Regions from separate parts of the Homo sapiens genome. Here regions 2 and 3 are each linked to region 1. The links are contacts of gene promoters, found by promoter capture Hi-C in human tissues and cell types (Jung and others, 2019). All regions are on one chromosome and are shown on one strand. The core of a region is centred on a gene start or on the middle of the fragment in contact, and the rest is flanking DNA. Distances in the headings are between cores, read along the strand shown. Region 1 holds the start of CCDC70 (coiled-coil domain containing 70). Region 2 has its middle 7.5 kb from the start of INTS6-AS1. Region 3 has its middle 21 kb from the start of NEK3.

Evidence for each region. The method cuts DNA at HindIII sites, captures the fragments that hold promoters and counts their contacts. A contact is called where the count stands out against the background at its distance.
Region 2: a fragment that was not itself captured here is called in contact with the fragment with the promoter of CCDC70 in region 1 in 1 of the 25 tissues and cell types used here (hippocampus).
Region 3: a contact is called between a fragment that was not itself captured here and the fragment with the promoter of CCDC70 in region 1, in 2 of the 25 tissues and cell types used here (liver and mesendoderm cells).

What each region holds. Positions count from the first base shown.
Region 1 is chr13:51,859,882-51,864,800 of GRCh38, reverse strand. CCDC70 (coiled-coil domain containing 70) reads right to left here and starts at 2,832. Exons shown (of 2, transcript NM_031290.4): 1 at 2,572-2,832. It also overlaps a transcript of TMEM272 not described here. RefSeq lists an enhancer at 2,031-3,230. The HindIII fragment of the contact is 9,463 bases long and covers 1-4,919 here.
Region 2 is chr13:51,458,390-51,463,308 of GRCh38, reverse strand. It overlaps the pseudogene RPS4XP16. Among named protein-coding and RNA genes, the nearest start is that of INTS6-AS1, 7.5 kb to the right of the region's middle. The HindIII fragment of the contact is 4,498 bases long and covers 646-4,919 here.
Region 3 is chr13:52,178,351-52,183,269 of GRCh38, reverse strand. It overlaps the pseudogene MRPS31P5. Among named protein-coding and RNA genes, the nearest start is that of NEK3, 21 kb to the right of the region's middle. The HindIII fragment of the contact is 6,460 bases long and covers 1-4,919 here.

The DNA of each region.
Region 1 (4,919 bases), core at 1,583-4,082:
CAGGGACATGGACCAAGAAGGCCCTCACACAATATTTAGTAATATGGAACAATAAGAAAGACACCAGATGACCCGCAGCTCCAGTCCCAGGTATAAACCCTGAGGAAACTTAGGAACTGTGACTAGGATACATGTACAAGTGTGTTCAAGGAGCTTTGTTCATAAGAGCTCAACTCTGGAAACAATCCAATGACCATCCCAATAGAGTGGAATAAAAAATGGCAGTATATCCACATGGCAGACAGCATGGCTGCCTACAACAGCATGGGTAAATCTTATAAACCCAATGCTGAAAGAGAGAAGCAGGATCAGGGAATTTCAAAGAATGAAGTTCCAAACAAGCAAGACTAAATGCCATTGTCTAGGGGAACATACTTCAACACAGAAAGAGAAAAGCAAGGAAGTGAGTCCCAAAGTCAGAGTAATAGTTGCTGGTGTGGGAGGATTTGGAGTGTGGGATGAGGAGGTGAGACTAAGGGGTGTGATTAGGTGAGTACTTGAGAGAGGCTTCTGCAGTGCTAGCAGGACTCTTTCTTTGCTTGGTGGCGGTTTCATGTGTGTTGTTATAAAAATGTGTTAAGTGGTACATGGATATTTTATGTACCCCAGTCAATACAGTATATTTCACAATAAAATAAAAGCTGGGAGGAAGAAAGAAGGAAAAGAAAAAAAGAAAAGAAAAAGAGAGGGAGGGAAGGAAGGAAGGGAGGGAAGGAAGGGAGGGAGGGAAGGAGAAAGATCTTCAAACATTGCCATATATCTGAGGAATCAGATAGCAGAATTATCCATAGCAATCCCTGTAACTACAAACATGAATCAAGGGATGAGAAAAAGTGCTGGACATAGGAAGGTGGTTAGAGTGCAGTAAAGAGCTCAGTGTTGTCAGATAAGGAGTGCAGGCACATGCTGACAGCATTGTTTTCCATTTTGTGCTTTCTGGAGGAAGCTGCCAGGGTCCGGCCCTCACTCAGTGGATCTCACCAACCCATCATCCGTGAGACCTATTGGGGAAATTTTCAGGGCTTTCTCTGTATTTTTCCATTTCTGGTTTAGGAACAGGGAGTGGAGGAGGAGAAAAGACACATAGCTGGTGTGTGTGTGTGTGTGTGTGTGTGTGTGTGTGTGTGTCTGTGTGCGCGTGCATATGAAGACACAGTGGCTAGGCTGTGGACAGCTGGTGGCATCACCATCCATCCAGTCACACAAACCAGAACCAGGGGCACATCCTTGACCTTTCCCTCTCCCTCACCAGACTTCTCTCCTCAACCATCAAGCCCTCCTAGCCGAGATCCAGATCCTTAACATTTCCTGAAACCATGCCCCTGTTCCATCTCCCCCATGACAGCCAGGTCAGGCCAGGATGCCTGTAACAGTCTCGCTGCTCTCTGTATTGATCTTACCCTCTCATCTGCCCCTGCACTGTAGCCCTACAGGTGTTTTCTAGAACACTCTCTCGTCCTATCACATCAGTTCACACACCTTCAAAGACCCTGTAGCCCAAAGATCAAAGCTGAACGCCCTAGGAAGGCCTTGTGCAGCCCAACTCCAGCTTGCTTCTCCCTCTCCTTCCTACCCAGCCTGCACCCAACTCCAAATCTAAGGCCCAGTATTAACGGGCTCTATTCAGCTCTTGGCACTCTGCCTGCAGTTTCCTGCCTGTGTGGTGAAGCACATGTCGCATCCTCTACTGAGAGCCCCTTTTGTTCCTGTGGTGGGCTTGAATTCCTGTACATCCTTTCCCCTCTGAAAGCTACTCGGACCCTCCAGACAAAGTTCCTCGCCACCTCTGCGATACTGTCTGTCTGTTACTCCACTATTACTTGTCACACTTGATTGAAATTAGGTGTGGACATGTCTTCCTGACATCTCTGTAACCCAGCAGCTATCATAATATAACGCCGCCTATATAGGAGGGAATTGGTGAAAATGTTGGTTGAATTGAACTGAATTGAACTGCATTTTGGAAATTTGATTTTCTATGTTGTATGGCTCTTTGCCTAGAATCCCTCCAATATGTGAAGTCCTCCCTCACTTCCATGTCATGCTGGCCCCCTCTCCCTGGATATCCTTGCCCAACCTCACTTCAGTTCACCTAGCGAATCCTTCAGCACTCAGATACCTCCTCCAGGCCATCTCTCCTAAGCTCAGACTGAGCATGTGCCCTTCCTGTCCCACTAGAAACACCTCATCTTCCATCTCTATGTCTGGCATCCAGCGAAATGTTCTGCCACAGGATAGGTGTTCAGGAAATAGTAGCTGGATGAATGGGCGTCTACTGGGTTAGGATGTTGGAAAACATTCACCTCCAAGTTTTTCTCAAGTGAACACTAAACTTTCTTTAAGAAAGAAAGAAAATAAGAACCATATCAAATAGGTAGATGTGTATTAAAATATAAAGTACAATATAAAACTGTAGATGTGTATCTGTATAGCTGTAAAAACATGCACTAAAGATACATGCCCAGTTTTCAGTTATACTGTAAGACTAGGAGCTTCTTTTTAAGGAAAATATTATATATTACCTTATGCTTAGAACAAATACTATACAGTCTAAAGCCAACAGTTACTTACTGCTTAGCTGCTTCCCACTGGGGTAAGTCCTGTAGCCCTCAGAGGGGGCAGGCGGCCATTGTCATGTCAGATCCCCAGTGATGCGTGCTTGCAGGCTTGCCCCAACAATGCTGGCAGTGACCTGTCTGTGCCCTTTCAGTCCTGACTCACAGGATGGAGATGGCCAAGAAGGGGACCCCTATAAAAGACTTTAAGGAAAGGAGGGGGCACTTGAAAGGTTTGAAAGAGTTCCTCTTCAATCTTTGACTTCACTGATAGGGCAGTGCTGTTGATGACTCACAAGTGATTGTTACCTTAGATTCTGTCAGCATTGGTTCCGGGAGCATGGTTCTAGGAAGTCATGTTCTGGTGGGGGCTTTGTGTGGGATGAATCACTTCTCTTGCTGCTTTCCAGATTCTTCGTCTTTGGCTTTTGATAGTTTGACTATGATGTGTCTTGGTCTTGAGGTTTATTCTACTTGGAGATTGTTGAGCTTCTTGGATATGCAGATTTGATGCCGTTTTTCATCAAATTTCAGAAGTTTTTGGCCATTATTTCTTCAAATATTCTTTCATCCATTTTCTCTGTCTCCTCTCCTTCTAGGGCTCATATTATGTGAATACTAGTAGCGTGAGTGTGTCCCCCAGGTCTCTAAAGTTACGTTCATTTTTCTTCATTCTTTTTTCTTTCTGTTGCTTAGATTAGATAATCTCAATTAACCTGTTTACAAGTTCATGGATTTTTTTCTTCTGTCAGTTCAAATATGCTGTTGAATCCCTCTTTAATTTTTCATTTTCAACTCCAGAATTTTTGTCATGTAGTAAAATTTTTAAATAGTCAAGTAAATTAACATATCCATCATCTCATATAGTTACCCTTTTTTGTGCACTGTAGCAAGAGCACCCACAATCTACTCTCTTAGCAAAAATCTTTAATACAGTGTTATTAACTACAGTCCTCATGTTGTACCTTAGATCTCTAAATTATTTATCCTATATATCTGCAACTTTGTACCCTTTGATTTCCCTCTTCCCGTCCACTCCCCACACGTAGCAGCTGCCATTTTATTCTTTGTCTGTGTATTTGACTTTTTTCTTACTTCTTCTTTTTAATTTTTTTAATATTCTACATATAAGTGAAGTTGTGCAGCATTTTTCTTTCTGTGTCTGGCTTATTTCACTTAGCATAATATTCTCCAGTTTCATCTATCTTGTGACAAACGGCAGGATTCTCTGTTTATGACTGAATAATATTCCACTTTATATACATGCTGCAATTTCTTTATCCATTCATCTGTCAGTGGACCCCTAGTCCATCCAGAATTTCTCCAGAAATTTTCACTGTGTCTCCAGAATTTGTTTGGTTATATATAGAAAAGGATATATGTGCTTTTCTATATACATATATATACACACACACACACACACACACTTCTATATATATATTTTTTCTATATATCTATATAAAAGTATATGTATACAAAGTGTGTGTGTGTGTATATATATATATACACACACACATATATATATGTATGCACACATACTTTTCTGTCTCTTTTTGGTAAGGCATAGTTTTTAATTCTTTCCTTTAATGCTTTTTTTTTTTTTTTTTGAGACATGTTTCTGTCACTCAGGCTGGAGTGCAATGGCATGGTATGATCTTGGCTAACTGCAGCCTCAATTTCCTGGACTCAAGTGATCATCCCACCTCAGCCTCTCAAGTAGCTGGGACTACAGGCGTGCGCCACCAGACCTAGCTAATTTTTTGTGTTTTTTTAGAGATAAGGTTTCTCCATGTTGCCCAGGCTGGCCTCAAACTTCTAGGCTCAAGTGATCTACCCATTCGGCTTCCCAAACTGTTGGGATTATAGGTGTGAGCCATCACACCTGGCCTTGTTTTCCTTTAATTCTTTTGGAATGGTTTCTTTTAGTTCTTTAACTACATTTGTAATAGCTGACTAAAAATCTTGGTTTAATCGCCCAATATCTGCAATTCCTCAGAGACAGTTTATAACCAAAAAGACAATTACTCAGAGAATAACAGTTTCAGGCCAGGCATGGTGGCTCATGCCTGTAATCCTAGCACTTTGGGAGGCCGAGGAGGGAGGATGGTTTGAGCGTCCTCCTGGTAGGAGTTTGAGACCAGCCAGAGCAACATAACAAGACCCTGTCTCTACAAAACTAAAATAAATTAGTCAGTTGTGGTGGTGCATGCCTGTAGTCCCAGCTGCTTGGAAGGCTGAGGAAGGAAGGATCATTTCAGTGCAGGAGGTCGAGCTGCAGTGAGCTATGATCGTGCCACTGCACTCCAGCCTGGGTGACAGAGTGAGACCCTGTCTCAAAACAAAAAAAAAAATAGAATAACAGTT
Region 2 (4,919 bases), core at 1,645-4,144, 400 kb after region 1:
GGCGTCATGGCAGGCACCTGTAATCCCAGCTACTTGGGAGGCTGAGGCAGGAGAACTGCTTGAACCTGGGAGGTGGAGGTTGCAGTGAGCCGAGATCGCGCCACTGCATTCTGGCCCAGATGACAGAGCGACACTCTGTCAAAAACAAAACAAAACAAAACAAAAAACCATAAACCAGATTGTTTATAAAAAACAGAAATTTCTCATACTTCTGGAGACTAGGAAGTCGAAGATCAAGGTGCCGGCAGATTTGCTGTCTGGTGAGGACCTGGTTTGTAGATGGTGCCTTCTTGCTCTGTCATCACATGATGTGACTGAGCTCCCCCAGGCCTCTTTTATAAAGGCACTAATCTCATTCATGAGGTCTCTGCCTAATCACCTCCCAAAGGTCCTGCCTCTTAATATCATCACCTTGGGGGTCAGGATTTGAACATATGAATTTTGATAGGACACAAACATTCAGACTACAGCACTCCAGTAAAATAAATAGATAAAATTGGGTTTTCCTGAGGTATCTGCACAGCTCTGTCCACTCTCTACTGAAACATCATTGACACCCTCAGTGACGCCTTTCCGTTCTCCATGTCTTAAACTCCAAACCTCCCTCTGCAGCACTTCATTTCCTTTCCCTGCTTTATTCTTCCTCTTTAACACTTAACGTGAATATACCACATATTATACTTGTCTACCTCTCCCACTAGAATGTAAACTTCATAAGGACAGGCATTATTTCCCGTTTTATTCATTCCTACATTCCCAGCTCCTACACACAGTAGACATTCAATAAATATTTGTTAAGCAAATGACTGAATAAACACCATTTGTCCTTTAGAAATGAGTTATACATCTTATTAGAATTTACAATTATCAGTAGCTTGATGATATTCACCTTATATGACACAAGATGGCTTTAATCACACAATATCATGATTCTGCCTGCATCAACTCAGTTCACCAAGTCCTGTCCATTCTATCATCACAATGTCTTTGATAATCCTCTTCTCACCTTCCCTGTTGCCACTTCCACAGTGCTTTTATGTGTTCTGTGGATTAATGCAGAAATTGTCAACTGGGCACTGTGGCTCACGCGGTGGCTCCCAGCACTTTGGGAGGCTGAGGGTGGGTCACTTGAGTCAAGGAGTTTGAGACCAGCCTGGGCAACATGGCAAAACCCTATCTCTACTAAAAACACAAAAATTAGCTGAGTGTGGTGGTGCATGCCTGTAATCCCAGCTACTTGGAAGGCTGAGACACAAGGATTGCTTGAACCTGGGAGGCAGAGGTTGTAGTGACCAGATTGTGCCACTGCACTCCAGCCTAGGCTACAGAATGAGATTCCATCTAAAAAAAAAAAAAAAAAGAAATTGTCTAACTCGTCTCCTTGCCCACTGTCTTCTCATTCTAATCCATTCTCCAAATCACTACTGAATTTATCTTTCTAAAATAAGAATCTGATTATTGGGTGTCTTAGTCTGTTTTGCATTGCTATAAAAGAATACCCAAGGCTGGGTAATTTATAAAGAAAAGAGGTTTAAGCTGGGTGCTGTGGCTCACGCCTGTAATCCCACCACTTTGGAAGGCTGAGGCGGGCAGATCACCTGAGGTAATGAGTTCTAGACCAGCCCGGCCAACATAGTGAAACCCTGTCTGTACTAAAAATACAAAATTAGCTGGGCATGGTGGCGGGTGCCTGTAATCCCAGCTACTTGGGAGGCTGAGGCAGGAGAATCACTTGAACCTGGGAGGTGGAGGTTGCAGTGAGCCAAGATAGCGCCATTGTACTTCAGCCTGGGCAACAGGGAGAGACTCTGTCTCAAAAAAAAAAAAAAAAAAGAAAAAAAAAGAAAAAGAGGTTTACTTGGCGCATGGTTCTGCAGGCTGTACAAGATGCATGCCTGGCATAAGACTCTGATTTTTTTTTCTTTTTTTGCTATTAATCTTGCCACATTATTTTCAATTACGTACAAAGATCTAACATGTCACCCTGGGACCATTTCACCCACTGCTCTGTTTGGCAGTCTTTTGTCTCTCTCTTCAGCAATGGTGAGGCGGATACCCTTTCCTCAGGGAAGAGAAATCCATAGTTTGTTGCCCTTGCCAATAACAAAAATGTTGGAAAGTTGAGTGGCAAAGCTGTTGCCATTGGCATCTTCCATGTGAACAATGTCAAAAGATCCAGGGTGCCTCTCTCTGTTGGTGATCACACCAATTCTTCCCAGGTTAGCACCTCCAGTCACCATACACAGGTGACCAGTGTCGAATTTGATGAAATCAGTAATCTTGCCAGTCTCCAAATCAATCTGAATGGTATCATTCACCTTGATAAGGGGATCAGTGTAGCGGATGGTGCGACCATCATGAGTCACCAGATGAGGGATTCCTTTTGTTCCCAGAAAGATTTTTCTCACTTTGCACAACTTGTACTTGGCCTCCTCAGGTGTAATATGATGTACAGCAAAGAGACTCTTGGTGTCATAGATCAGAGAGAAATTCTCTTCTGTCTTGTCAATGCTGATGGCCTCCATGAATCCAGCAGGGTAGGTTATATCAGTTTAGACCTTGCCATCAATTTTAATAAACCGCTGCATGCAAATCTTCTTTACTTCATCTCCTTCCAGGGCATACTTAAGTCTGTTCCTTAGGAAAATGATGAGGGGAAGACACTCTCAACTTGTGGGGACTGGTGGATGGACAAGGAGCAAACATACTGGTCAATTTATCCAGCATCCAGTGCTTTGGAGCTGCTACTCACTTCAGATGCTTCTTGGGACCACAAGCCATGGCTGCGTTAGGCAAGGAAAGAGCGAGCCTCTGCTTTTGGAAGCTTCCAATGATGGTGGAAGGGGAAAGAGAGTGGTATGTCAGATGACGAGAGAGGAAGCAAGAGGGAAACGGGAGAAAGGTCCCAGGCTCTTTTTAACAACCAGACCTTGCAGAAACAAAGAGTGAGAATTCACTCAATCCTCAGACAATGGCACCAAGCCATTCATGAGGGACTTGTCCCCGTAATCCAATCACCTCCCACCAGACCCCACCATCAATATTGGGGATCAGATTTCAACATGAGATTTGATATAGCCAAATTATATCATCAGGGTCACTCCCTGACCCCAAAACTTTGTCTATCACCCAAATAATAAGATTCAAAAATTTTTTAGTTGAGCACATGAAACTCTTCTTGACATGGCCCAGCATCCGGTCCTACCACTCTCCCACACATGTAGTTGCAGCTCGAAACTGCCCTTTCTTACCCATTCATGCATCCTCATGACTTCTGTCTGCCCAAATATCACTTCCTTTGTGAGAGTTAGGTGCTCTATCCTCAGTGCTCACAGTGCTCTTTGTACATTCTCCTAATAACACATATTTTAATAGCTGCCAGCAATAAATGATATTTTGCCAAATCTAAGATGTACATCTTTCCAATATTTCTAAAACTGGAATGGCATCTTACAATCATGGTGTCTTACAATGCTGTCACCAGAAGGTAGTTGTGATGTAGTTGTCTTAGCCTGAACATGTGCAAACTTCCTGGTTATTCCTGGTGGCATGATTAGACAACTGCAAACCCTTGACATTTCAGTCAACTAATCATTTAAAGAAAGGATTTAAATCCTGGTTGTGATCTGAAAACCCTTCATTGATACCTCTGAGTTGCAATAAGAAAGCACCAGCATTGAAACTCATAGAATGGACCCCAACAGCTTGCAAAAAAAACCCAAAGATAATAGTGGAATATTATTTTAAAAAATGTTGCATCACTAATGCTCTTAGCAGAATTCAATACAATGTGGAAAAATTCTATGTGTCATAGTTTAAGTAGCAGCATTTCCCTCCGGCCCCCTCCATGGTCCAAAAATAATGGTGTTTGTTACAACTCATGGTCTTAAAATTGATAAAATATGGTATGTTACCTCAAATTGTCAAACGAACCCTATAAGTCATCTTATTTTATGCCTGGGGTCTGCTGACATCATAATATTGTATTCTCATTATCTGTTATCTGTCTTGTCTTTCCACTAGATTATAAATTCTCTGAGGACCTAACACAGTGGCTGTCATATATTAGGTGTGGAATTAATATTAGTTGAAAGAATGACTGCAATGTTCATGTTCTTCTGCTGTTCCACTTTGATTCTAATTGTCAATCTGGATGTACCCCTTTTCAGGGCTGATCTTGAATTGTCTGAGACTTCAACTATTACTGTGAAACACCATTCATTGGAAAGATCTAATTTCTTCTTAATAGTCATCTCTACCAGCATTTTCTTTTGAGGGCTGATGTAACATTAGTATGACCAAAATTAAATTTCCTTAGATATGTATTAACTGATTACATTGGCTGGACAGTTTCGCATCTAATTTTTTTATGCTTATAACTTTTATATGTTATTTGATGTTCTCAACCTCTCCATATCGTTGACTAATGTGATCTCAAAGAGAGTAGTATAGCAGAGCGCTGAGGAAATGGTAAGACAGCTAAAAGAAACTTTGTTAGGTTACATATGAGGAACACTAAGTGTATCTGATTATTCTGCTCAGATGGCACATCTAGATATCATAAACCAAGTCATTGGCACATAATTATTTTTAAACTGTGTTACCCTGCTTAATTGGTTTAAAATAATTTAAAAGGGCTCTGGTTGGCTCTTACAAATGAATCTAATTCATCAGTTTTAATTCTGTTAGAATAGCTCCATTTCAACAATTTAGGTTATTATTTAAGCCAGGGTCACCATTCTTTCAAAAGTTTTCATATAATTTATTTATGCCCTTTTAAATTGGAGCAAGAGCATTAAGAAAACATTCCTTTAAAAGCAGCAGCAAAGATGAAGTTTTCTCCAATATACCTATTCTGACCATTGCCCTCCCAGAAAAATCTTCCCTAATTCTTTAGACTGTAACATTACAAGGCTCAG
Region 3 (4,919 bases), core at 1,537-4,036, 320 kb before region 1:
AGCCAAGATCGTGCCATTGCACCCTATACCTTAAAATGGTAGATTATTTGTGGCCATTTGAAGTTCTTAAAGATGCTGAGCCATGTCTTACATAGTTATTTTAGAATCTAAAGTTGTTCTGTATTTGCAGAAAGTTTCTATTCTTTCTCTCCTTTTAAATCCTGAAAGTGGTAGTTGGGAAGGAGGAGCCAGATATTTGGCATGGCCGGACAAAAATTAACTTGTCTTTTTTTTTTTTTTTTGACACGGAATCTCACTCTGTCGCCCAGGCTGGACTGCAGTGGTGCCATCTCAGCTCACTGAAACCTCTGCCTCCTGGGTTCTAGTGATTCCCCTGACGGCCGCCCCAGTAGCTGGGATTACAGGGGCACATCACTACACCCAGCTAATTTTTGTATTTTTAGTAGAGACGGGGTTTCACCATGTTGGCCGGGCTGGTAACTCCTGACCTCAAGTGATCCACCCACCTCGGCCTCCCAAAGTGTTTGGATTACAGGCGTGAGCCACCGCACCTGGCCTAACCTGTCTTTATAGCAGGATATGCTCACAATTGGAGTGTTTTCAATAGATTGTGTATTCCGTGGATTTGTTTTTTTTGTTGTTGTTTGTTTGTTTGTTTTTGAGATGGAGTCTCGCTCTGTCGCCCAGGCTGGAGTGCAGTGGCGGGATCTCGGCTCTCTGCAAGCTCCACCTCCTGGGTTCACACCATTCTCCTGCCTCAGCCTCCTGAGTAGCTGGGACTACAGGTGCCCGCCACCACGCCCAGCTAATTTTTTGTATTTTTAGTAGAGATGAGGTTTCACTGTGTTAGCCAGGATGGTCTCGATCTCCTGACCTCGTGATCCACCTGCCTCAGCCTCCCAAAGTGCTGGGATTACAGGCGTGAGCCACCACACCTGGCCTCCGTGGATTTGTTTTAAGTAAAATCAGGCACTTGAGTTAACTCCTGGGTGTTAAATTACTGATTTATACAGGAAAGTTGGAAAAGGTGGTTAGCAGTTAACACACAAAGTTCAATAATTTATGGTGACTTTGGAATATTATTTGAATTACTAATTTAAAGTGATTTCTTATCTGTTACATATTATTGAATAAAGTAGAAAGTGCTCTTGGAGTTTTACTTAAGAATATTTAACTGAGTCAGTTAATACTGGAGAAAATTTAACTGAATCATTCAGCTTGCATATAATACTGTGCAGCTACATCGGGATGGCATATTTGATTTTTAGTATTAGATTTGATATTTAATATTTTAAAAATTAGGTGGCAAAGGAGAAACTAAAAAAGTAGGAAAGGGGTTCCTGTGCCTTCAGTGTGTTAAAAAGCCAGCTAAAGGGGAGTAAGGGGAAGCAATGGTGAGATGCCAAGTTGTTCACCCTGATATGACTTGGGCAGGGTCTGAGGTATCAACCCCAGACAACCCAGGCCTGGACTTATTGCTTCTGTTGGAAATTGACAGTTCACACTGGCCTTTCTCAGAATGTTGGCACTGCCACTGACTAATTCTGTGACCGGGGCACCTTTTATAGCCTTCATCAGCCTGTTTCCCCAGCTGTAAAATGCTGAAAGTGAAACCTAGCTTAAATGGCTTTCTTGAGGAATAGAAAAGAAACCACGTATAAACTATCTGGTACATAGTAGGTGCTCAGCAAATGTCCATTCCCTTTCTCTGTTGTACATTCCTCTTTTGAAGTTCAGTGCTTTACCAAGGCATTTCCTCTCTGCTGTGACTTGCTTTAATCCACCATCCTGTTCACCGGATGTTCGGTTGAGGGAGAAGAATGCAAGGCACTGAGGAAAATTCTGGCATAAAAACCTTTGTTTACAAATAACTTAGGAACCTGCTAGAGGAAAACTTGTATGACTTGAGATCACATTATTTAACGTTCATATGGTATTTGCATTTTTTCCAGTTCTATTTAGTAGAGAAAAGTAACTTAGTCCATAAAAAAAGAATTTGAAATTATTTTTAAAATTAACCCTCCAGTTTATAAACTGGATTTTAATCTGCCAGTAAGTTTATTCAAGTAAATATGTAAATTGATGCATAAAGCATATCAAGTTTGCAAGACAATGTTACTTATTAACTCTGATATTAATTTCAATAGTTAATTAAAAATCGTCATGTAAAGAAAGTTATTTTACAGAATGCTTTATGAAAGGGAATGTTGTGATTTACCTATGCAATCTTTTGTAATTATAATTTGTAATTAAACATTGCAATGTTTTCTGCCCTTAAAAACAAATGTCGACTTCAACAGCTTCTTTTTTGCATAGTTTTATAGTTTTTCACAACATAGAGTTTTTAAAACTTAATATAAAAGGGAACAAATAAAAATTATGGCAAATTGAGCTAATCTTTTCAATTAGATATTTTGGAAATTAAGTTGCTGTAACTGATTTGTTGTATTATGAAGCAAAACTTCAAGTGCACATTTCTGTTTTTAGTCTATCGGTCCTAAAAATGTGGCAATTTAGGTAAGATGTTTGATGTGCGTCAGTGGAATTATTTTGAATTTTTACATAGAATATTTCACTTAAATTTTTTTCTCATAATTTTTGTTGACAGTTTAAAATATATTCATTAAAATATTCTTTTTTTTTTTTTGTCTTAGGAAAAACATATTCAAGGGGAAGAGATGTAATAGTTTTGACGTGACGACAGTTACTAAAGAAGCACCTGAACAGGTTTGTTAAGAATAACTGTTTCTCAGGTGGAGAAATATTCCATCTTTACAAGATGTCCTGAAGGTTTTGATGGTGTAATAGTCGGATATTTTAATATTCCCTCCTGTCATTGGCCTGGATCCGAATGATGAATGTGGCGGTTGTTAGAAGGAAAACTCGGGACTATAACGTCCCCCCAAATTGGGAAGGCATCGAGAGACCAAAGAATAATTTGGGCAAGTCCAGCTTGATGAATAGATGAGTTTACTAGAACTTACCTACTGGACATTTCTGGGCAGCTGTAGAGTCACCCTGCCTCTTATCTCTAAGCTGCTTTTAAGCTTATATTCTGGCTGTTTGCCTACTGTGTGTGCACGATGAGACTGTTTTCCTTGATATGTTTTGAGGTATGCCCTGGGATGTTTGGGTTCTCAGGGACACCTGCTCCTCAGCTAGGCACTGTGGCCTTGGCTCCCTGCCCAGCCTTCAGGGTTCAAGCAACACACATACACAGTAACCTGGTGGGGGACATACCACACTACAGTTGTTGAGATTGCTAGTTGTGGTTCAGTTTCCCTCTTGAAATGTTGCATTCTGTGAGATAATGGGAGGTGAGTATTACCGATTACATGAATCCAGAGGTCCAGATTAGCCCCTAATTTGGGTTAGAACATTATTAATCACCTACCATTTGCAGTGTATCTCTATGCTATTACATAAAGACATACTGGTTCCTGTCCCTAGGCAGCTTGCTATCTAGAAGAGGAGATAGCATTTATAAAATAACTTATTGAAGTGATTTAGTGATTGTTCAGGAGATGGGAAGAACATTCAAGGAATATATTTAAGAGACTTGTGTTTTTTTCTTAACACATGGTTGGTCTTTGTTCTCTGTTCTTCCCCTTTTCTTTGGGTAAGAAATTTACCATTTAAGTCTAAAAGAGAAATGAGTGTCCTCTTGCTTGGCATTAAATTTGGTTTACTAGTAAAATAAATGAAGAAACTCAATACAGATGGTCTCCAGAGTGTAAGTGATGAGCATTTCTAATGAATAGAAGTTAGTTTTTTGGACTTTGATAGAAATAATGTTGTATATGCACTTAGGAGGCTGAGATGACAGGATGGCTTGGGATTAGGAGTTCAAGACCAGCCTGGGCAACATAGTGAGATCCTTTCTGTAAAAAAATAGAAAAAAATTATCTGGGTATGGTGGTGCATGCCTATAGTCCTAGCAACCTGGGAGGTTGAGGTGGGAGGATCACTGGAGCCCAGAATTCAATGCTGCAATGAGCTACAATTGTGCCATAACACTCCAGCCTAAGTGACAGAGTGAGACCCCCCCTCAAAGGAGAAAAAAAAATGTTGTACGTGATAGATAAGTTCCTAGGCCAGCCTCCAATGGCTCATTTAATCTTTCTACCAGTTACTTACATGAACTTCTGATTTTCCCCCTATTTAATAAACTATGTTAGAGGCTAGATCTCATTCATGTCTATATACCCTATAGCATCTACTCATGTGGCTTACAGATCATAGGAACTAGTTATCTTAAATCTTAAATTCTTTTTGAAGAAACTGTAGTATAAAATATACATCTATAAAGGAAAGTAGTGAATTCAATTAACGTTTGTTCGTTAGAACTGAAGGTGAAGCTAAAAGAACAACCCCCTGTATTACAAAAACTGCATTCTGTTGTGTATGATAAAAAGGAAATGCAAAATGCATAGGGACAATGAATCACCTCTCCCCTGCTCAAATGGTATCCGTTAAGTGTGCATCAGAAAGGAATTTTTTGTCAGGGCAGCTGCTGTTGTCCAGCCAAAAGAGATACTTGGATTCCGGAAGAAGCCAGCTTACTTTTTAAAATAAAAAAATCTTATTTCTTAAACTGAAATTAGTTGGCAAGGAGGCATTTAAATTTTATGTATTTTATAAAACAGTATCAAATGATTATATTCTAGTGAGGAAAGTAGCACACAAATTTATGTAATAATTTAATGAAGTTACTGTTTGAATGTGCTGTACTTGCATGAGTCTAAAGAATGTTTTTTGTTTCCATTTAAGTACAAGAATAACAAAATGTGGAAACTTAAATTTAGCAGTTGTTCATTGTTGTTATCTTATATCCCAAACAATGCTGGAAATATAGTTGGCATTCAGTAATTTTTTTATTGACCGATTGATTGAGTTATTCTGTTCCATGATTCCCACGTCTTGTTCCCCACTAAATTCTTACCACTGCTACAAAGGAT